Linked DNA regions of Homo sapiens: regions 1 and 3 are each linked to region 2. Evidence: promoter capture Hi-C in human tissues and cell types (Jung and others, 2019). All regions are on one chromosome and are shown on one strand. The core of a region is centred on a gene start or on the middle of the fragment in contact, and the rest is flanking DNA. Distances in the headings are between cores, read along the strand shown.

What was found. The method cuts DNA at HindIII sites, captures the fragments that hold promoters and counts their contacts. A contact is called where the count stands out against the background at its distance.
Region 1: a fragment that was not itself captured here is called in contact with the fragment with the promoter of CAPZA3 in region 2 in 3 of the 25 tissues and cell types used here (dorsolateral prefrontal cortex, mesenchymal stem cells and spleen).
Region 3: a fragment that was not itself captured here is called in contact with the fragment with the promoter of CAPZA3 in region 2 in 2 of the 25 tissues and cell types used here (lymphoblastoid cells and spleen).

Annotation. Positions count from the first base shown.
Region 1 is chr12:18,625,585-18,629,778 of GRCh38, forward strand. All of the region lies in intron 31 of PIK3C2G (phosphatidylinositol-4-phosphate 3-kinase catalytic subunit type 2 gamma), which reads left to right. Among named protein-coding and RNA genes, the nearest start is that of PLCZ1, 110 kb to the right of the region's middle. The HindIII fragment of the contact is 9,314 bases long and covers 1-4,194 here.
Region 2 is chr12:18,735,546-18,739,615 of GRCh38, forward strand. It overlaps CAPZA3 (capping actin protein of muscle Z-line subunit alpha 3), which reads left to right and starts at 2,574. Exons shown (of 1, transcript NM_033328.3): 1 at 2,574-3,643. The coding sequence starts at 2,724. The coding sequence ends at 3,623. PLCZ1 (phospholipase C zeta 1) reads right to left here and starts at 2,467. Exons shown (of 15, transcript NM_033123.4): 1 at 2,387-2,467; 2 at 1,816-1,964; 3 at 676-799. The coding sequence starts at 1,826. The HindIII fragment of the contact is 1,043 bases long and covers 1,987-3,029 here.
Region 3 is chr12:18,807,255-18,811,406 of GRCh38, forward strand. The region is part of intron 4 of LOC102724227 (a long non-coding RNA gene); the gene reads left to right. Among named protein-coding and RNA genes, the nearest start is that of CAPZA3, 71 kb to the left of the region's middle. The HindIII fragment of the contact is 4,047 bases long and covers 867-4,152 here.

The DNA.
Region 1 (4,194 bases), core at 1,405-3,904, 110 kb before region 2:
GTATGGATGATCTGTCCACTAGTGAAAGTGATGTATCGAAGTTCCCTACCATTATTGTATTGAGAAGAATCTATCCCTTCAGAAACTTTAATATTTGCTTTATACATATAGCTCTTCCACTGTTAGAAGCATATATATTTAAAAGTGCTATGCCCTCTTGATGAATTGACCCCTTTACCATTATACAATGTCTTTGTCTCTTTTTGCAGTTTTTTATTTAAAGTCTATTTTGTCTGATATAAGTATTGCTACCCCTGCTCTTTTTTGGTTTCAGTTTTCACAGACTATTGTTTTTCATCCCCTCACTTTTAGTCTGTGTGTCCTTAAAAGTGAAGTGAACGTCTTGCAGACAGCATATAGTTAGATCCTGTATTTTTTTATCCATTACCTCACTTTGTATCTTTTATTAAAGAATTTAATACATTTACATTCAAAGTAAGTATTGACAGGTAAAGACTTACTAGTATCATTTTGTTACTAACTGTATTGTTTTATTTATGTGTAGATACTTGGTTTTTTTCTTCCTCTGTTGCTGTCTTTCTTTGTGGATTGATGGTTTTCTGTAGTAGTATGTTTTCAATATTTTTATTTGTGTTTTGTGCATTTTCTATAGATTTTTTCTCCTTGGTTACCCTGATGCTTACAAATAATATCTTTCGCTTACAACAGTCTATTTCAAGCCAATAACAATGTAACTTTCATTGCATACAACAACTCTATACTTTTCTCCTCACACACCATTTTATGTTTTTTATGTCTGAATATATATTATTTTGTAATATGTATTCCTTGACAGTTTATTTTAGCTATAGTTCTTATTAATAATTTTGTCTTTGTGCCTGGGATAATATTACTTTACACACCACCGTTATAGTCTTAAGAGTGTTCTGAATGTTGTTCGGTATTATTTATACCATTAGATTTCATGATTTCATAAGTTTCATGTTATTAGCTAACAAATTTTTCTTTCAGTTTAAAGAACTCCCTTTAATAATTTCTGTAATGCAAGCCTAATGATGATTAACTCCCATGGCATGGTTTGTCTGGGAAAGTTTTTATTTCTTCCTTATTTTTGAAAGACAGATTTTCTGGGTAAAATAGTCTTGGTTGGTAGGCTTTTTCTTCTTTCAGCACTTCTACTATATCATCCCACTCTCTCTCCTGGACTGAAGGGTTTCTGCTAAGAAGTTTGCTGGTAGTTGTATTGGGACTCCTTTTGCTGCTCTCAGAATTTTTTCTTTGATTTTTTTAATAGTTTGATTCTTATATGTTGTGTTGAATTCTGAATTTGATTGGAGATTTCTGTGGTTCCTATATTTGGATGTTAGCTTTTTTGGTCATATTAGGGAACTTATCATCCATTATTTCTTTAAATATGCTTTGTGACCCTTGTATTCCTCCTCTCTGTATTTAATTCCTTTTACTCATGGCTTGGGTCTCTTGATGGTGTACCAACATTCCCATAAATTTTCCTTCTTCCATTTTTTTTTTCTTTTTGCTCCTCTGCTTGGATAATTTCAAATGTTCTGTCTTCACACTCACTGATTCTTCAGTGTGATTTCACTGGCTGTTGAAAATTTCTATTGCATTTTTTCAGTTCAGTCATTATATTCTTCTTCTCTATGATTTATTTTTGGGGTTTTAAAATCATTTCTATTTCTTTCTCAAACTTCTCATTTTGTTCAAGTACTGTTTTCCAAATTTTACTTTTTGCCCATATATTCTTGGAGTTCATTGAATTATTTTACGGAGTTATTCTGAATTATTTTTCTGTCATTTCTTAGATATCCCTTTCTTTGGGCGTCATTGCTGGAGCATTTTTGGTTTCTTTTTGAGATGCCATGATTCCTTGAGTTTTTGTAAACCTGTGTCCTTGCATTGGTGTTTGTGCATTTGTGGAGGCAGCCACCTTTTCTGGCCTTTACAAGTGTTCTTTGACAGAGATAGACCTGTGGATGGGTGCAGAATTCTTGTTGTAAGGAGATATAAGTAGGTGACCTCCTATTCTGCCCCATCTTGCTGACATCACTCCTCAGCCATTATTCATTCTACCATTTAACTGAGGCACAAAAACAAATCATATCGCAAGTGCTTTTATTATACACTATTATTTTATAAACAGACCCTTTTCATGATGGCTAACCTGAATTTAAAAACTGCAATGTGACAGGCACATAGATGAGAAAATGCTTTTATATTATGTTGTTTTGTTTCTGGTATAGACCTCAGGTTTTGATAGTTCCATCATATTTTAATCATCAGTTGATTTCCACTAAAGCTTATATTATCCTATGATTGGAGACATTTAAGCTAAAGAAAAGATGAAAAATTCTCATAAATTATTCATTGAAAAGATAATAACCTATTAAATACAATTAAGCCTTAGATTAATCTACAGAAGTTTCCAATGCATCTGATATTTTTAAACCACGTCTGTATCTTCATCACATTCCTGGTAAAACTTGATCTAGAAGTGCTCTTTCTTTCTTGGTCTTTCTTTGTAGTGAATCAATATAGGATCGTGATTAGGAACATAGGTTATATAGAAAAACCTCCTCAATAAACTGAAGCTGATAATCCTGGCCTGAGGATTATTTTAATAGAGTTCTTTAAATATAGTAAATAGTCATTATGTAATAGCTATTATTATTGTTATTATTACTATGAGTGCAAAATAAATATTTTCCCCATATACACATATGAAAATACTGAAGAGTTGCTGGCATACCCCATAATATTAGATGTTTCACTTACTTTATAAACAGTTTAAAATGTGCTTTGTTTTTGTACTAACATGCTACTGCTTTTTTTCTGTTTTGATATATTACCCATGTTTTTAAGATAATTTTAATTTGTTGGTGATAAGAACAATAGTAGCATTGAAAGCCATTTGAAATGCTATATGCAATCTGGGGCAAGAAACAAAGGCAGAAGATTGGTATATTTAATTATTCATGTACTTAAAACAATACCATTTAGAGGTCAACATTGTGAACAAAGAATTACTAATATGCATCATAGATTTTAAGTTTTGCAACCTGAAATAATAACTAAGCTAAGAATCCCCTGTATTCCTCTCTTCAGTTGAGAAAGAAGTATCCTCACTAGTGAATTCTAAGAAGATCCTAAGGTCTTCATTTCCAATCTTTCCAAGTAGTGGGACACCTTTTTAAACTTAGAGAAAATTATCTATCAAGTGTCCCTGAAATCTTTTTAATATCTTATAATTTATCTGGGCACAGTGGCATGGTAGTTCCAGCTACTTGGGAGGCTGAGGCAGGAGGATTTTTTGAGCCAGAGAGTTGGAAGCCAGCTGAGGCAATGTAGTGAGACCCCATCTCTGAAAAAATAATCTGATAATTTAAGAAATATAAAATAATTTTTAAAACCACTATAAATGTAGCAGTGCTTTTAAAAATATTAAAATTGTGGTAACAAGAGCATTTACATATATTTGACAAAATAATAGCAAACTTGAGTGAAATGTATTAATTCCCTCTGTGGAGAATGTTTGGTGTTAACATGGATCCAGCCCCCTGGCCTAACCATGGGTCACCATACGATGCCTCTCCAATAAATTTTGAATAACTTAATATCACCAGAGCAAAGGAATGTGCTGATTTTCTTTTGTTTCTTCCTTGTACTGCACAACAGAGAGGGAGAACTTGCACAGATATGAGAGAGGGCACAGGAATACAGCACAAAAATGTAACTTTAGCTCACAGTCTCTGCCTACAAGGTCCCTAAGAAATGGTCAGGTCATCATCAGCTCCTAGGAGATTTTAAGAACTTCTTGTGCTCATTGCCTAGATTTTCAAGGAGTTAAGGTGGAGAAACCCGGAGAGGTGATGAGGCATATCACAGAGGAGTAAACAAGGCCCCAAGGAAGGAACACAATTAGAGATGAAGTCTCTAAAAGAAAGTGAGGAGGATGGTGACTAAGGATTAATTCTGGGACTAAGTTTGAATAATGCTGTTACAAATAAAGTCTGGCTCCAGTTGGGAGTAGAGGGGATAAAGAAGGGTAGTTGGCGTGTAATTGCCTAATATTGACTCAGAGATAGGATAAGGCCAAAAGTTTAGAAGTGGAGCATTGAGACAAGCAGACTTTGACATGATTACTCCTGATTAGCCACAAAATCCAAATGATGTGCAGGAGAAAGTCACTTCTATCAGAGACATGCCTTCAGATGG
Region 2 (4,070 bases), core at 1,324-3,823:
TCTCCTTTTTGTTATTGGTCTGTTTAACCTTTCTAGTTCTTCTTGGTTCAGTCTTGATGGGTTATATGGTTCTTGAAATTTCCCTTTTTTTTCTAGATTGTCCAATTTTATGGTGTATGATTGCTCTATGTGTTTTTCATTTTTGTGAGATCTGTTGTAATGTCTCCACTTTCATTTCTGATTTTATTTGACTCCTCTCTCTTTTTTCTTACTCTAAGTATTTGTCAATTTTATTTAACTTTTCAAAAAAACAAGTCTTAGTTTCCTCAATTTCTTCTAATTTTTTTCTTTTCTATTTTAGTTATTTCTGTGCTAATCTGTATTATTTCCTCCCTTCTGCTAACTTTGGGCTTATTCTCCACTCTTTTTATAAATCACTAACATCTAATACAGTTACCATTATCAGTCTGATATAATTAGACATCCAATCCTAGGTTTAATGTTAGCATTTCTGTATGCTCAGGAAATTATTCTAAACTGATATCCTGGTATTATTTCAGATTTTCTCAACAACTAATTTTACCTTCTACTGAAATGCTCTCCATCTTGATTGTAAATATAGTTAGTATAATTAATTGCTTTTCTTCTTAAGAGACTAACCTTTATATGACAATTACTGACATTGGATTAAGTTCCACCTAGGATAGGATAGGCAGGGGGTGGATGTCATCTTACCTTAAAAATCTGTTTCACATGAATATAACTGCACCGAATATCTAATTTTTCAAGTAACCTCTGAGTTTTTTCTAGGTTAATTTTTCCACCTCTGAAGTCATCCTGAATCTTTGACAAAAACCATGTAGAAGCACAAAAAAGTTAAGGAAATTCTCACAGAAAGTCATTGAATATTTAAAATTCCTAAAGAAACATTTGATTTACTGTATTATTTTTATTTTTAAAGAATATGTTTAAAGTAAATTATAGTATAATTGTATGATAAATATTTTTTAAAAAACAAAATTAAGTAGTTACTATGCTATGGTAAAGGTATGAAAGGGCATAGCACAGTAAAAATACAAAAAAAAGAATTAAAGTTAAAATTTGAGAATTGAAGTCATTACTTAGAACATACATTAAAACATTATAACAATCTATTGCCTGAAGGCATGAAGTTGGAAGGCAGCTAGACTTCAAGATCGCCTCTCACCTGACCTCTCTGTTTTAGTTCTCTCTTCCAGAAAGGTGAGCAAATTAACCCTGAATCTTAAGGAAAGTGGAAGCATTAGATGAATTCCTAATATGCCACCGAACACAGTTTCTGCTACTTAGTGTTCAATAAATAGTAACCATGACTGATAAAGTTATTATTACTACATTAGTCCAATGCCCAGCTACACACACACTCAAGACAGTACCATCAAAAAGCATCAGAAATACCATGGTGAGTGTATATTTGGTATGAAAAACGAAAAAAATTTTTAAAAGCTTACTTATCATAGATAAACTACAAAAACTAGGACACTTCCATTTGAAAAACTAAGATCGAAATGAGATAATGACAATTATCACTAAAATTATAAAAGGTATAGGTAAAAATTGTGCAAAACTACTAAGTTTCAGATTGTTAGAACGAATTAATGAGATCTCCTTAAATTTAATAGTTATGACTTAATCCAGCAAAGCTCATGTTCTTGTAAGAAAAAGATACCAGAATGCAGGGAAAGTTAGAAAAGCTCAGAACAAACAGGGAAAAGCAGTTCAACTTAAATGAAGAGGACTTAAATTCAGAACTCCTCGAAAAGAATAACAGCATCAAGTAAAGAGGATAAGTAGGAGAAAGAAGAAGAGGAGCAGAAAGAAGCTCTCAATGGATATCTCATTTCCATAGTTTCATGACCTGTAGAGCCGTTTCTCCTCACTTAGAAGTCTTTCCCCAGTAGGTGCTGTCATGGGTTCCAAATACAATTAACTCTGCCCCTTTGCAGAAAATAATTTCTTGATACTCATCAGCTGTTACCACTTTTCTAGGGAGAAAGCAGAGAACACACAGTGGTTTTTTTTGCCTTCGTTCTTTGAAGCTAGCTCACACTTAACCATAGAAACAGTATGCAAGATGTGGTACCTGCACTACCCTGCCCTTGAAACTGTTTGGCTTCTTACGTTCTGACCACCTCCAAACCCACAATATTTGAAAACACAGCTTTCCCTGATGTCTGGCATTTTTCCATGAACTGCCATTGTATCTCCTTTTATTTTTTACTACTTTGTTTAAACCCCTCAAACCTTTCATCATAATATGCTTCCAGTGGGTTTGGGCAGCTACTCTGAGAGCCTGAGTATAAATCAACACCATTGTGATTCCTGAAGTTGCAAAGTGCTGTCACTCTTGAAACTTTGGGCTGCTTCTCTAGATCGTTGACAACATATAATGCACACAGAGACACACCACTTTCGAAGAAGACTGTTCAGGAGGCTAAGTTCTTAAAATCTTCAAAAGAGGTATAGCTGGTTGGCTGGGCACCACACTGTCAGGTGACTGTCATTTTTTCCTTTTGGTCTGAATTCCCATTGTGATATCATCAGAGGTTCCACACTTCACAAGGAAAGCTTCTTATGACCTCATCAGGAGGCTCAGACCTTGCCAGACTGCCTGCTTTCATGGATAGACATAAAAACCTTCAGCTTGAATGTTAACACCTTGATGGGAAAGGTGGCTCATGGAATGTTTTCTTATCCTTTGAACACTCCTCATTTCAGAAGCTTTGCTTCTGTTGCAACCAAACATGACACTTAGCGTGCTGAGCAGGAAGGACAAGGAAAGAGTAATTCGCAGACTGTTATTACAGGCCCCTCCAGGGGAATTTGTAAATGCCTTTGATGATCTCTGTCTGCTTATCCGTGATGAAAAACTTATGCACCACCAAGGTGAGTGTGCAGGCCACCAACACTGCCAAAAATATTCTGTACCACTCTGCATCGATGGAAATCCAGTACTCTTGTCTCACCACAATGTAATGGGCGACTACCGATTTTTTGACCATCAAAGCAAACTTTCTTTCAAATATGACCTGCTTCAAAATCAGCTGAAAGACATCCAAAGTCATGGTATCATTCAGAATGAGGCAGAATACCTGAGAGTTGTTCTTCTGTGCGCCTTAAAACTGTATGTGAATGACCACTATCCAAAAGGAAATTGCAACATGCTGAGAAAAACTGTCAAAAGTAAGGAGTACTTGATAGCTTGCATTGAAGATCACAACTATGAAACAGGAGAGTGCTGGAACGGACTTTGGAAATCTAAATGGATTTTCCAAGTTAACCCATTTCTAACCCAAGTAACGGGAAGAATATTTGTGCAAGCTCACTTCTTCAGGTGTGTCAACCTTCATATTGAAATATCCAAGGACCTGAAAGAAAGCTTGGAAATAGTTAACCAAGCTCAACTGGCTCTAAGTTTTGCAAGGCTTGTGGAAGAGCAAGAGAACAAATTTCAAGCTGCAGTCTTGGAAGAATTACAGGAGTTATCCAATGAAGCCCTGAGAAAAATTCTACGAAGGGATCTTCCAGTGACCCGCACTCTTATTGACTGGCACAGGATACTCTCTGACTTGAATCTGGTGATGTATCCTAAATTAGGATATGTCATTTATTCAAGAAGTGTGTTGTGCAACTGGATAATATAAAGAATTGCTCCTGGTAACTATCTTGATTTGACTTGTTTGTGTTTCTTGGGAATGGTTATTTTCCTAAAATTGAGCAATCTGTAGAGATGTCTCTCACTTAGCCAATGCAAATTTAAATGGGAAAAGTGTAGCAAGTAATTTTACTTGGGGAATATTTATGAACAAGGCAAGAAAGTGTAAAGTAACTGTGTTTCATGGTGGTGACCATCATAAAGACCAAGACATTTGTTAGAAACTAAAATAGTTTTATAGAATCTGGGATTCCAGAAATAGTATAGAGGTGGCCAGGGTTAAGGCTGTGTGTGGGTGTGTACGTGTGTGTGTGTGTGTGTGTGTGTGTGTGTGAGAGAGAGAGAGAGAGAGAGAGAGAGACTTTTGACTGTTTCGAACTGAAAAGGTATACAAATGAATATCACTCCACAAATGATATTTTACATAACTCAATTC
Region 3 (4,152 bases), core at 1,640-4,139, 72 kb after region 2:
GAAGCTCAAAGAAGACTAGTAACTTGATTAAAACTGACAGAGCTGGTAAAAAAAGAGCCGGAAGGATTCAAATTCTTCTGTTCATTAAAAGAAAATAATAAATAAATGACAGGCTATGATTCCACTGAAAAATATTTGTATTAAAAATAAGTATCCTTGGACACAGAGTAGTGGTATTGTGTGGGCAATGGAGTTGGAGACCTAGCGTTAGAAGTGGTTCTTCCAGGAACTTAGGCAAAGCAAAAATCTAAGGCCATGCCAGTTGTGAGGTGTTCGGATGCCATAGTTCTTTCCCAGTAACATCAAAGTAATATAATCTCCAAAGATAAGAACCAAAGAAGACATCTGACATAAGAATCTGATCCAATGGCTTTAAACATTAAATTGAATATTAAATAGAAGAGATTTTAGCCTGATGCTAAGATTTGAATGTATGGTGTATTTAAACCTATGGCTGAGTATATTTTTAAATTATAAAAAAATGATATTTTCTCTGCTGGGAAATTATTAGGAATTCTAATTTTATGCATACTGCAAGTCTTCAACTATTTATGACTGTTCAAAAGAAACCATGCTGAGCTTCTCTGTCAATGACTTCTAATCAGAGAAGCCTTCTATAAGCTTAGCATAAATAGGTGATGAGAGCAATGAAAGGGCATCACCGTTTGTCGCAACACTTGACATTTAATATTACTGTCACAGATGCAGGCCTCCTGGGAGAGGAAAGGAGAAGTTATTAAGACGAGGGACTTAAGAATACTTTATAAAATCCTACCCTCTTGATTTTATTTGATTTTTTTTTTAATATTGAACTCACCCTGTTTGGAGAACCCCTCCTCCTTTTTTCTTGCTTATGTCAATTTCATTCTTTCAACTTTTCCCATTGGCTTGTGCTTCCTTCTGTTAAATTGACATGCCATGAATCTTTTAGATATCAATTCTCAGTAGAAATCGTCCAATGTTATTGAAAACTGTGTGCTTGCTTATTTGAACTTTATTATTTTTTCCCTCTACATACCATTTACTTCAAACCATGTAATAGACTTTAAAACATGTGTTCACATTATCTTTGGGGGAAGTGCTCTTACCCCATGGGACAGTATAACAGCAAGCTTTGCTCAAAGATTCTTATAAAACATTAGGGGGTGATTATGTGAATTACCAAGGACTTTGTAAAAGCTACACCCCTGGTGCATTTAAGTGTTTATTTACTGAACTCTCTTATGAGGAAAGTGGCTTAAGTAGCCACTGCCAAATGGCGGCCAATCATAAGAGAAAAGACATCTAGGACAATACAGAGTGATCAGCAGGAAAATGGCATTGCATTGCAGTTAGTATGCAACGCATCATTTAGGCAAAGCAGAATATTTCTAGAGATACCGTAGTCCAGTTCACCTTAAATAGGAAAAGTACTAACTATAGGTGTAAAATGATCCTGCTACTTCTGGTTAATTCAGTACCACATGAAGTATAGTTTAATTGTTGCCAAGAATCAGAAAAAGAGCCTTTAAAAAACCAATTGGACACTATAGTATATCTTATACATTAAACTTATAGTTCCTTTCCATACTGTTAATGATCCAACCCATCTTAAGCCCTATTGAGGCAACTGAAATAGACATTACTCTGTTAAGTGAGCAATGATTATGACTGCTTTTAATAATGTATTATTCATATCTTACAGAAACAAAGACTTCTTATATGCAGTGGATTTTTTAATCTCAAGGATGACAATATTTATCATAAAAAGTATGTTAAATAACACATGTATGACATGAATATGTTATATTCTGAATTTGAGGAAAAACTATCCCTATAAACAGGAATTTGCCCTTTCATGTTAATAATCATTTAGCTGGGTGAGCAGCTTAGACTAGCATGGGTGATTCAGAGGGGCATTGAGGAGATCATGCTGAGCTTGGAATTGCAGTTTATGAGAGAAAGCATGGTTCAAGAATGGACGATCCAGGCAGAGACCAATATCACATAACATTTCATGAATTTACTAAATGAGAACATATAAACAGCTCACTCACAAAGTTGAATATTAGTTTTGAACCCAGACACAATGCATACTTACTACTTTTTTTTTTTTTTTTTTTGAGACAGAGTCTCGCTCTGTCACCCAGGATGGAGTGCAGTGGCGCCATCTCGGCTCACTGCAAGCTCTGCCTCTTGGGTTCACACCATTCTCCTGCCTAGCCTCCTGAGTAGCTGGGACTACAGGTGCCCGCCACCACGCCCGGCTAATTTTTTGTGGTTTTTTTTTAGTAGCGACGGGGTTTCACTGTGTTGGCCAGGATGGTCTCAATCTCCTGACCTCGTGATCCACCTGCCTCGGCCTCCCAAAGTGCAGAGATTACAGGCGTGAGCCACTGCGCCCGGCCATACTTACTACATTTTAGAGAGTAGAATTATTGGCCGTGTGTGGAGGCTCACGCCTGTAATCCCAGCACTTTGGGAAGCTGAGGCGGGCGGATCACCTGAGGCTGGGAGTTCGAGACCAGCCTGACCAACATGGAGAAACCCCATCTCTATTAAAAATACAAAATTAGCCGGGTGTGGTGGTGCATGCCTGTAATCCCAGCTACTTGGGTGGCTGAGGCAGGAGACTTGCTTGAACCTGGGAGGCAGAGGTTGCAGTGAGCTGAGATTGTGCCATCGCTCTGCAGCCTGGGAAACAAGAGTGAAACTCTGTCTCAAAAAAAAAAAAAAGAAATTAGAATTATTTTTGGCACAAGAAAGAGAGAAAGATCAGACACGCTTGGACTGGTTCAAATTTGTATTTCTGCTTTACTGACTGGCTCTGTGGAGACGCGGTGGCTGCTCTCGGTCTTTCAACTGGTCCACGTAGCCTTTACATGGATACAGACTACTGATTCCATAAATAGAGAAATTTCCAGATGGTCCCACCTCAGGGGGAGTCATTTGACTCATGACTGGCACACAACACTGAAAATGCTGGAAAGATGGCAAATATTAGTAACTGATAATACTAGAGGAGTGAGTGGGAACATATAGGACCCAGCATTTACATTTATTTCAGGAATCAAAAACACCAGACTCTTTATGTCCCTGGTAGACTGTTTCCCTCCCCTAGAAAGCTAGTATAGCAGGGTATGAAGTAGCAAGAATTTGCATATGGAATTCATGATTAACATTAAAATGAGAAGAAATGTTCCATTTTGTGTTTCTGTTGGAGGGACTGCTGCAGTGGGCCAGCTATCAAGCAGCATTAGAATTGATTGGATCAGTCCCAGTGAATGTGATTTTTATCCATCAATTATTCAAAAATTCTGAGTTTCATCATCAAACTGAGAGGCCGCATAAATCTCAGACTTATGAAGCTCATCAGGTAGCAGGTGATGCTAGAGGCCTTTTGGGAACAGGACTAAATAATCAAGTTCAGACCTGAGTCACTAAGATGGGCTTGAGAAAAGATGATGAACTGAGAAAATTAGAGCAGTGAGAGGACCATATGGGGACATTTGGATAGATAAGACAGTGTTTTTGCAGCTGCCGTGAGTGCATAACATTTAGGCAACAGAGATGCATTAGTTATCCATTGTCATAGTAATGCTGCATAACAATTTACCCCAAAACTCATGGCTCAAAACAATAGGCATTTATTGAGCTTACACGTCTGTGGGTTATCAATTTAGACTGAGGTTGGCATGACAGTTCCAGCCTTAGCTGGGCGCACTCACGTGTCTGGCCATCAGCTGCGAATCAGCTGATCTTGGATAGCCTCCGTGGGAGCTGGAGCAATTCAGAACTGGGTCTCTTCTCCAGCAAGTCAGGCTTTTTCATAACAAAGAGAAGCAAGAGATATAGCAAAAACACAAATGTACTTTTTAAAGCCTCTATTGCGTCATATCTGCTAACATCTCGTTGTTCAAAGCAAGTCCCAGGGACAAACCAGAATTAAGAGAGGTAAAAATAGACTCGTTCTTGTTAGCAAGAGAAAATATAAAGTCAAAGGCAGAGGGTACTCTGTTAAATATCTACTGCTCCATTAAAAATTTACCCCAAAACTTAGTAACATAACACAACTGCCATTTAATTTGCTTACTATTCAGAGTTACTCTTCTGGAGGCTCAACCAACAACGTAGCTGAGATTAGATAATGTAAGATGTCCTGACACATGTGTC